Regions from separate parts of the Homo sapiens genome. Here regions 1 and 3 are each linked to region 2. Evidence: promoter capture Hi-C in 16 types of primary human blood cells and fetal thymus (Javierre and others, 2016). All regions are on one chromosome and are shown on one strand. Each heading gives the region's core, a stretch centred on a gene start or on the middle of the fragment in contact. The rest is flanking DNA. Distances are from core to core; before and after follow the strand shown.

Evidence for each region. The method cuts DNA at HindIII sites, captures the fragments that hold promoters and counts their contacts. A CHiCAGO score of 5 or more calls a contact.
Region 1: a fragment that was not itself captured here is called in contact with the fragment with the promoter of ROS1 in region 2 in 1 of 17 cell types (erythroblasts); the score reaches 5.7 in erythroblasts.
Region 3: a fragment that was not itself captured here is called in contact with the fragment with the promoter of ROS1 in region 2 in 1 of 17 cell types (erythroblasts); the score reaches 6.9 in erythroblasts.

What each region holds. Positions count from the first base shown.
Region 1 is chr6:117,845,548-117,848,326 of GRCh38, forward strand. No RefSeq gene overlaps it. Among named protein-coding and RNA genes, the nearest start is that of SLC35F1, 60 kb to the right of the region's middle. The HindIII fragment of the contact is 2,322 bases long and covers 228-2,549 here.
Region 2 is chr6:117,424,683-117,427,510 of GRCh38, forward strand. ROS1 (ROS proto-oncogene 1, receptor tyrosine kinase) reads right to left here and starts at 1,260. Exons shown (of 44, transcript NM_001378902.1): 1 at 852-1,260. The coding sequence starts at 974. The HindIII fragment of the contact is 564 bases long and covers 1,168-1,731 here.
Region 3 is chr6:117,889,530-117,892,229 of GRCh38, forward strand. No RefSeq gene overlaps it. Among named protein-coding and RNA genes, the nearest start is that of SLC35F1, 16 kb to the right of the region's middle. The HindIII fragment of the contact is 5,056 bases long and covers 1-2,700 here.

The DNA of each region.
Region 1 (2,779 bases), core at 139-2,638, 420 kb after region 2:
CTGCCTGGGCTCCGCATGGAGTCAGGAGAACCTCTCCAACATGGGAAAGGATAAGTCAGTGAGAACCCCCAGAAGGATTCACACTCTCTACAGGGACCTGTGCAAGATTGGAAATGGTAGAATCTTGCCGGCCCCTCTGCACTCCCCAATCATGCTTCTAGACTGAGACAGATAGCCACTTGGACATTTTGTGGGGGACAACTCTCAAGTCCAAGGGGACCTCTATAAGCTTTGAGCTCTGGAGCAGATCAGCCCTGGTGCCATAGCCCCAGTAGAGGCCACAGCTGTACTGCCTAGGAGCAGAGAGATTGCTCCACTCTCCCTTGCCAGATGGGGCTGGGCACCAGCTTCCAGCCCAGCAGTCCCACTTTCGTGTGAACTCAACTGGAGGGCAGAGCCTCCTGATGTCCTGGGAAATGCCTGGATGTCAGAGCATGAGGCCGCATTCAAGCCCACCACCAATAACCAGGAAGGCAGTGCTTGCTAGAGCTTCTGGCCCAGTGCTCCTGCTTCTGTGCGAACTCAGCTAGAGGGTGCAGCTTCCTATTGTCTCAGGAAACACCTAGATGATGGAGCACATGACTCCACCCAATCCTGCCACTGGTAGCCAGGTGGGCAATGCCTGCCAGAGCTTCAGGCCCTGTCATCCTGCTATTGTGGAAAGTCAGCTGGTGAGTGTAGGCTCCTGTTGTCCCAAGAAGAACCTGGATGGCAGGGAAGGCAACCCCACTCACCCCCACCACTGATAGCCAGGTGGACAGTGCCTGCTAGAGTTTCTGGCCCAGTGGTCCTGCTTCTGTGGGGACTCAGCCGAAGGATGCAGTCTCCTGTTGTCCCTGGCAACACCCAGATGGCAGGATGCATGACCCCACCCACCCCTGCAACCGATAGCTAGGTAGGCAATGCCTTATAGAGCTTCTGGGCCAGCAGCCCCACTTCTGTGTGAACTCAGCTAGAGGACACAGCTTCCTGTTCTTGGGAAACACATGGACAGCAGAGTACATGACCTTGTCCACACCGGCCACTGGTAACGAGGCAGGCAACCCCTGATAGAGCTTCAGGCCCAGTGGTCCTGCTTCTGTGGAAACTCAGCTGAGGGGTACAACCTCCTGTTGTCCCAGAAAGCATCCATATGTCAGGACAGGAGTCCCCACCCACCCCTGCCACTGGTAGCCAGGCTAGCCATGTCTGCTAGAGCTTCTGGTTCAGTGGTTGTAGTTCTGCCTGAATTTGCCAAGGGGCACAGCCTCTTGTTGCCCTGGAAACACCCAGACAGCAGGGTGGGCAACTCATCCACCCCACTTCCTGTAGCCTGACAGCCTACACCAGCTAGAGCTTCCAACCAAGCAGTCCTGCTTTTGCCTGAGCTCTGCAGACAAGCACAACCCCATGTTTTCTCAGGAAGCACACAGACAGCAGATTAGGACTGACCTGGTAAGGATACATCTTGTCTGCCAATTGTGGCCCCTGCCTGAGAGAGCCCTGTGGACCAGAACGCCAAACAAAAGAAATGCAGGCACAGAGACAATAATCAGAGAGGGTTCCTCTTAGACTCGGGCATAGACTAGAATTGAAGCCAGTCAACTGAATCCACCTTATACCATAAGCAAACCCCCAAGGGGCATCAAAGAAGAAAAAAGAGGAAAAACAACCATCCAAAGGACAGCAACTTCAAAGATTGAAGAAACATCAGCCCACACAAATGAGAATCAATCAGCACAAGAACTCTGGCAACTTAAAAAGCCAGAGTGCCTTCTTTCCTCCAAACAACCACACTGGTTCCCCAGCATGGGTTCTTAAATGGGCTAAAATGACAGAAATAGAATTTAGAATATGGGTAGGAATGAAGGTCATCAAGATTCAGGAGAATGTTGAAACCCAATCCAAGGAAACTAAGAATCACAATAAATTAATACAGGAGTCAGTATATGAAATAGCTGTTATAAAAAAGAACCAAGCTGATATGATAGAGCTGAAAAACACACTATAAGAACTGCATAATGAAATCACAAGTATTAACAGCAGAATAGACCCAGCTGAGGTAAGAATCTCAGAGCTAGAAGACTGGCTCTCTGAAATAACTCAGAAAAAAATTAAGGAAAAAGAATAAAAAAGAATGAACAAAATTTCTTAAAAATATAGAATTATGTAAAGACGCCAAATCTACAAATCATTGACATCCCTGAAAGCGAGGGAGAAAGCAAACAACTAGGAAAACATATTTCAGGATATCACCCATGAAAACTTCCCCAACATCACTACAGAGGCCAACATTCAAATCCGGGAAATACAAATAACCCCTGCAGGGTACAAAAGAAGACCATCCTCAAGACACATAATCATAAGAATTTCCAAGATCAAAATGAGAGAAAAAAATGTTAAAGGCAGCTAGAAAGAAGGGGAAGTTCACCTAAAATGGGAAACCCATCAGGCTAATAGTGGATGTTTCAGCAGAAACCTTACAAGCTGGAAGGGATTAAGGAGGGAACTACATTCAGCATTCTTAAAAAAAACTATTCCAACTATGAATTTTATATCCAGCCAAACTAAGCTTCATAAGTGAAGGAGAAACAAGATCCTTTTCAGAAAAGCTAATGCTAAGGGAATTTGTTACCACTAGACCTGCCTTATAAGAGGTCCTCAAAGAAGCTCTAAATATGGAAAGAAAAGACAATTACCAACCACTACAAAAACATACTTAAGTACACAAACCAATGACACTATGAAGCAACCACACAAACAAGTCTGTATGATAACCAGCCAATAATACAATGACACA
Region 2 (2,828 bases), core at 10-2,509:
CAGTTTAAATCAAAAGTGTATAAGTGCAAGTTTCTTTTTAATCTGCCACATAATTCTATCTCCAATACTTTAGAATAATATAATGAATACTATATTTAGTACTTGCATTATGTTTAAAAGTATGGCTATAGATAGGGTCATATGCAAACTATCATGATATTTTATTTGTCTTTAGACAGGAAGAGTGCATTTTCTCTGTCTATAGAGTACTTGGTTTTTAAAGTTAATTCAGTGACTGTTTTAAGCACAACTAAATTACAACTGAAAAGAGATGGTACAATAGTTAGAGAAGGGATGACACCCAGAAATGAGAATGAAAGCATGAATTTCCATATAAAAAACTCACTAACTAAAATAATAAATGCACAAACAGAAATAAAGAAATGTACAAATAATTATTGCTTTAAAATATTATTTTACATGGCAACTGTATCTGCTTCCTTTTTCATCCAGCTCCCTACACAGCTGGAATTAGCAGGCATTATCCTGTGGCCAAACCGATTTCAGGTTTCAAGACAACTACTAATGACTTTGTAATAAATAAGTTTAAATAGAAAGTTTTTAAGTGTGCAAAATTGGCAAAATTGATTCCATTTAAACCTCCTTTACCCAGTCCTCTAGCCCAAAAAATATATGACCACATACCCTAAAGAAATAAAATAGCCTGCTTTATCTTCTGCAATTATAAGGGCTCCTAACTTATTTAAGAAAAAATAATCTATCTTGCCTTGTTGCCACCACTTCTCATAAGAAAACTCCTCATAAAGAGAAAACAATTCTATCAGTTATAACAAGCTGAATGCTACATGTTCTAGTTCCTGCAAAGACAAATATTAGATTGTGAGACTTACCAGATTAGTTACACACGACTTTAGGCAGCTATTTAAAACTGTACACTGCACCACAGAAATCCATAGGCAGCCAAGAGTTGCAAAATTGACAAGCTTCGGAATAAGACAGTAAATGTTCTTCATCACTTCACCAATGGCAGATTTTTAGATGGCCGGTCTAATTTTCTCCATTTTGCTATATGAATTATTTGGGCTTCATCACTTCAATTGGAGGAGTAGCTGATGGATTTTGCTTTGTTTGTTTTGCTATATTAGGATATACTTGCCTTTTGAAATAATACTTAGCCTTTTTCATTTAGACCTTTGAATGCTTGAAAGCTTGTAACAGTTCCATAAGAGCTATTTCATAACAGCTTCCTTTTACTCCCATAAAGTCACCCAGTGACTAAAGGTTAGTTCTTAGAAGTGCACTTCACATGGAAATTAAAGAAAACGAATTGTATTTCAGCAAGGGTGTGACACATGCAGTCTGAAACTGGAACATTTCAGTGGGTCGTCCACCACCTTACTTCTCTGAGCTCTTTTCAGCTCTGCAGGGAATTGGGTTTTGACCACGTATGCTTTAGCAAACAGTAGCACTATTATAATAAAGAATTATTGGAAAAATAGAGGCACCCAAATCAAGCAATGCAACTGAGAGAGAAAACAGAACTCAGAAGCCAAATACATATTTTTAAATTTAAGAGCAAACAAAGCTGAAATTAATAGACAAATACCCTGGGAGAGAGTTAAAAACAAGGAAGTTGGTTAGAGTACTCTCAGAACTTTACTACATATTAACTAAAATACTGACTTATCAGGTCTATCGAGACAGCTGAAACTAGTTACCAGAAACCTAAGATATGTTCAAGTGTCTGCTTTGAGAAGGAAACATTGTACAAGCTTCCTTCCTGCCTGCCTTCCTTCCTCTCTCTCTCTCTCTCTCTTTCTTTGAGACTGAATTTCTGTCTGTCGCCCAGGCTACAGTGCAGTGGCATGATCCCAGCTCACTGCAACCTCCGCCTCCCAGGTTCAAGCGATTCTCCTGCCTCAGCCTCCCGAGTAGCTGAGACTACAGACGCCCGCCACCATGCCCAGCTAATTTTTGTATTTTTAGTAGAGATGGGGTTTCACCATGTTGCCCAGAGTGGTCTCGATCTCTTGACCTCGTGATCCGCCCACCTCGGCCTCCAAAAGTGCTAGGATTACAGGCGTGAGCCACCGCGGTACAACAGGCCAACCTCCTTGTTTTCTTAAATAAATTATACTAAATGTAACTTAACCTTTTCTTAATGATATAAGGTTCTCCCTATGAGTAACACATGCATGAGGTTTTGTTTTGAGCTGAACGTCTTTTGATTGGATTTTTGTTTGTTTGTTTTTTAATTTTTGTGGGTACATAGTAGGTGTATGTATTTATGGGGTACAGGAGATGTTTTGAAACAGACATGCCATGTGAAATGAGCACATCATGAAGAATGGGGTGTCCATCCCCTCAAGCATTTATCCACTGAGTTGCAAACAATCCAAGTATGTTCTAAGTCATTTTAATATGTACAGTTATTATTGACTGTAGTCACCCTGTTGTGCTATCAAATAGTAGGTCTTATTTATTCTTTCTACATTTTTTGTACCCATTAACTGTCCCCATCTCCCATCCCCCACCCCACCCACCACCACCCTTCCCAGCCTCTGGCAACCATCCTTATACTCTCTTTGTCCATGAATTCAATTGTTTTGATTTCTAGATCCCATAAATAAGTGAAAACATGCAATGCTTGCCTTTCTGTGCCTAGCTCAATTCACTTAACGTAATAATCTCCAGTTCCATCCATGTTGTTGGACGTGACTGAATATGGCTGAATAGTTCTCCATTGTGTATATGTACCACATTTTCTTTACCCATTCATCTGTTGATGCATACTTAGGTTGCTTCCAAATCTTAGCTATTGTAAACAGTGCTGCAATAAACATTCACATGCAGATATTTCTTTGATA
Region 3 (2,700 bases), core at 87-2,586, 460 kb after region 2:
TGCTGATTTCCTTCACCAAGTAATTGGCTAACTCTCCTTTTCACTTTGTGTGGTTAGCTGCATTACAAATATCACATAGCTATTTACTATCAAGGTCAAACAATAAGAGAAATAGAAAGAACCTCTGAATACAATACATTTTCAATAAGCCTCTGTATATGAATGAGTCATTTACTTATGTCTAGAAAAACAGGCAAGACAGCAAAGAACAGTTTCTGTTTAAATAAAAAGTTAACTGCATTGCTTTCTAGAAATCTCTTGGCCTATTTTAAAAGTGTATTCTGGCTTGAATAGGCAATATATTTCTTCAGGAGACATTTCCTCTCCTTTTAGCTTTTTATTTCCAACCTTAAATGAAGTCTAGTATATAAGGCCTGGTTCCAACTTTTTTTTTTTTTTTTTTTTACATTATCTGATTTTGAAAATGTGTAGGACAATTCCCTAAGTCAGTTTCTTCATTGTCAGTCAGTTATTTGACAGATACTTATTGCATGCCATGTACCGTACTAAGTGCTGGGAAAGAAGCTGCATGAGACAAGGTACTTTAGCTAAAGGAGCTTATAGCCTTCAGATAAATACATAGAAAAATTGATGTTATGTTTGGTGCACTTAGAGAAGGCTGTGGTTACACTGCTAAGGGCATCTAATTAGGCTATGGTGTCAAGAAAAACTTCCTGGAGGAGGTGATTCCTGAGGTGGTTTTTTAAAAACAACTAATAGATGTCAGCTGAATCAGGAAAGGAGGGAGAGATATGTAGAATGAGCAACATGTGGGAATGCCCAAAGGCATGAAACAACACTACACAGTAGGGAAACTGAGCATTCTGAGCAAAGGAAGTGCACACTAGGGAATAGGAAAAATGAGGCTGAAAGGGGTTGGCAAGTGGCCAGATCATGAATGAGCTTCCATTTAGCTATGGAATTTGAACTTGGTCCTGTAAGCTGATGGAGCCATTGAAGGACTAACAGAAAGAAAGTGACAATGTAAGATTTGTGTTTCTGACAAAGCACTTTGGTGGGAGCCCAAATCAGAGGTCACTGCAGTGACCAGACTGAGACATGACAAGAACCTGGACAAGGCTTAGTGATGTGATAGGATAGGAGTGAATGAGAAGGGTTTTTTTAGGAGATAATACTTTAAGCCATGGTGACTGTGGGGTAACTGAGAAGGCACAGTTTGGGCATCTCCCAGCACTCTGTTTGAGCAACTGATTTGGGATTAATGTTATTCACTATGCCAGGTGCCACAGCAGGAGGAGGAGGTGAGTGGGAGGAGTTTGGGACATAGTGTTTCTGATATGTGTTTGGAAGTGTAGGGATTAGAATTATCAGACAGTTCAGAAAAAGAAATAGATTTTTAAAAATTTAAAAAGTTGATTAGAGAGAGCCATTGGAAGTAGCGAGTGACAGCTGAAGTCATATAGGTGGATAAGATCACCTAGAGACCATGCATTGAAAGTAGAGGACCAAGTTTGAGGCTCTGGATAAAACCAACAGTTAAGGGGCATTTGAAAGAGAAGAAAGCCTGTAGATGAGACAGACAACCAAGGAGATAGGAGAAAACAAAGGAGATGTTCTTCCAGAAGCAGAAAGAATAGAGCAATCAGGAGAAGAATGTCAACATTATCAAATATTCCCTGGAATATTCAGGTAAAATAAGAACAGAAAAAAAGTTAATTGGTGTGATGGCTAATTTTGTGAGTTGACTTTACTGGGCTAAGGGATGCTCACATAGCTGGTAAAACGTGATTTATGGGTGTGTCTGTGAGAGATTTCTGTAAGAGGTTAATATTTATATCAGTAGACTCTGTAAAGAAGATCCATCCTCACCAAAGTGGATGGGCATCATCCAATCTGTTGAAGGACTGAATGAAACAAAATGGTGAGAACATACAAGGTCCTGATTCTCAGGCCTTCAGCCTCAAACTGGGAGTTCCATCATCTGCTCTCCTGATTCTCATGCCATTGGACTCAGACTAAACTATACCACCAGCTTTCCTGGGTATCCAGCTTGTAGATGGCAGATCATGAAACTTCTTTGCCTCCATAATCAAGTAAATAACTTTATAAATGTAATTATAAATCAAATTATAAAGCCAATAATAAATCTCTTCTTATATTCTTCTGTATGTATTCTATTGGATCTGTTTCTCTGGAGAATTCTAATATAATTGGCTTTGGAAAATGCAAGAGATATGAAAGTTTTTGGTGACCTTAATGAAATCCATTTCAGTGATGTATTGGGGCAAAAGCTGTCCTTCAGCAGATTACAGAGTGAATAGAGCAAAATGGAAATATAGGCTTGGTGCTGTGACTCATACCTGTATCCGAAGACTTTGGCAGGCCAAGGCAGGAGGATTTCTTGAACCCAAAAGTTTGAGACCAGCCTAGGCAACACAAGGGAACCTCATCTCCATAAAAAATATTTAAAAATTAGCCAGGTGTGGAGATGTGTGCCTATAGTCCCAGCTACTTGGGAGGCTGAGTTGGGAGGATCACTTGAGCCCGCAGGTCAAGGCTGCAGTGAGCTGTGATCATGTCGCTGCACTCTAGCCTTGGTGACAGAGTGAGACCCTGTCTCAAAACACACACACACACACACACACACACACACACACACACACACACACAGAGAGAGAGAGAGAGTGAGAGAGAAAATATAGACAGAATATAAAACACTCCTTGATCAAGCATTTAGAT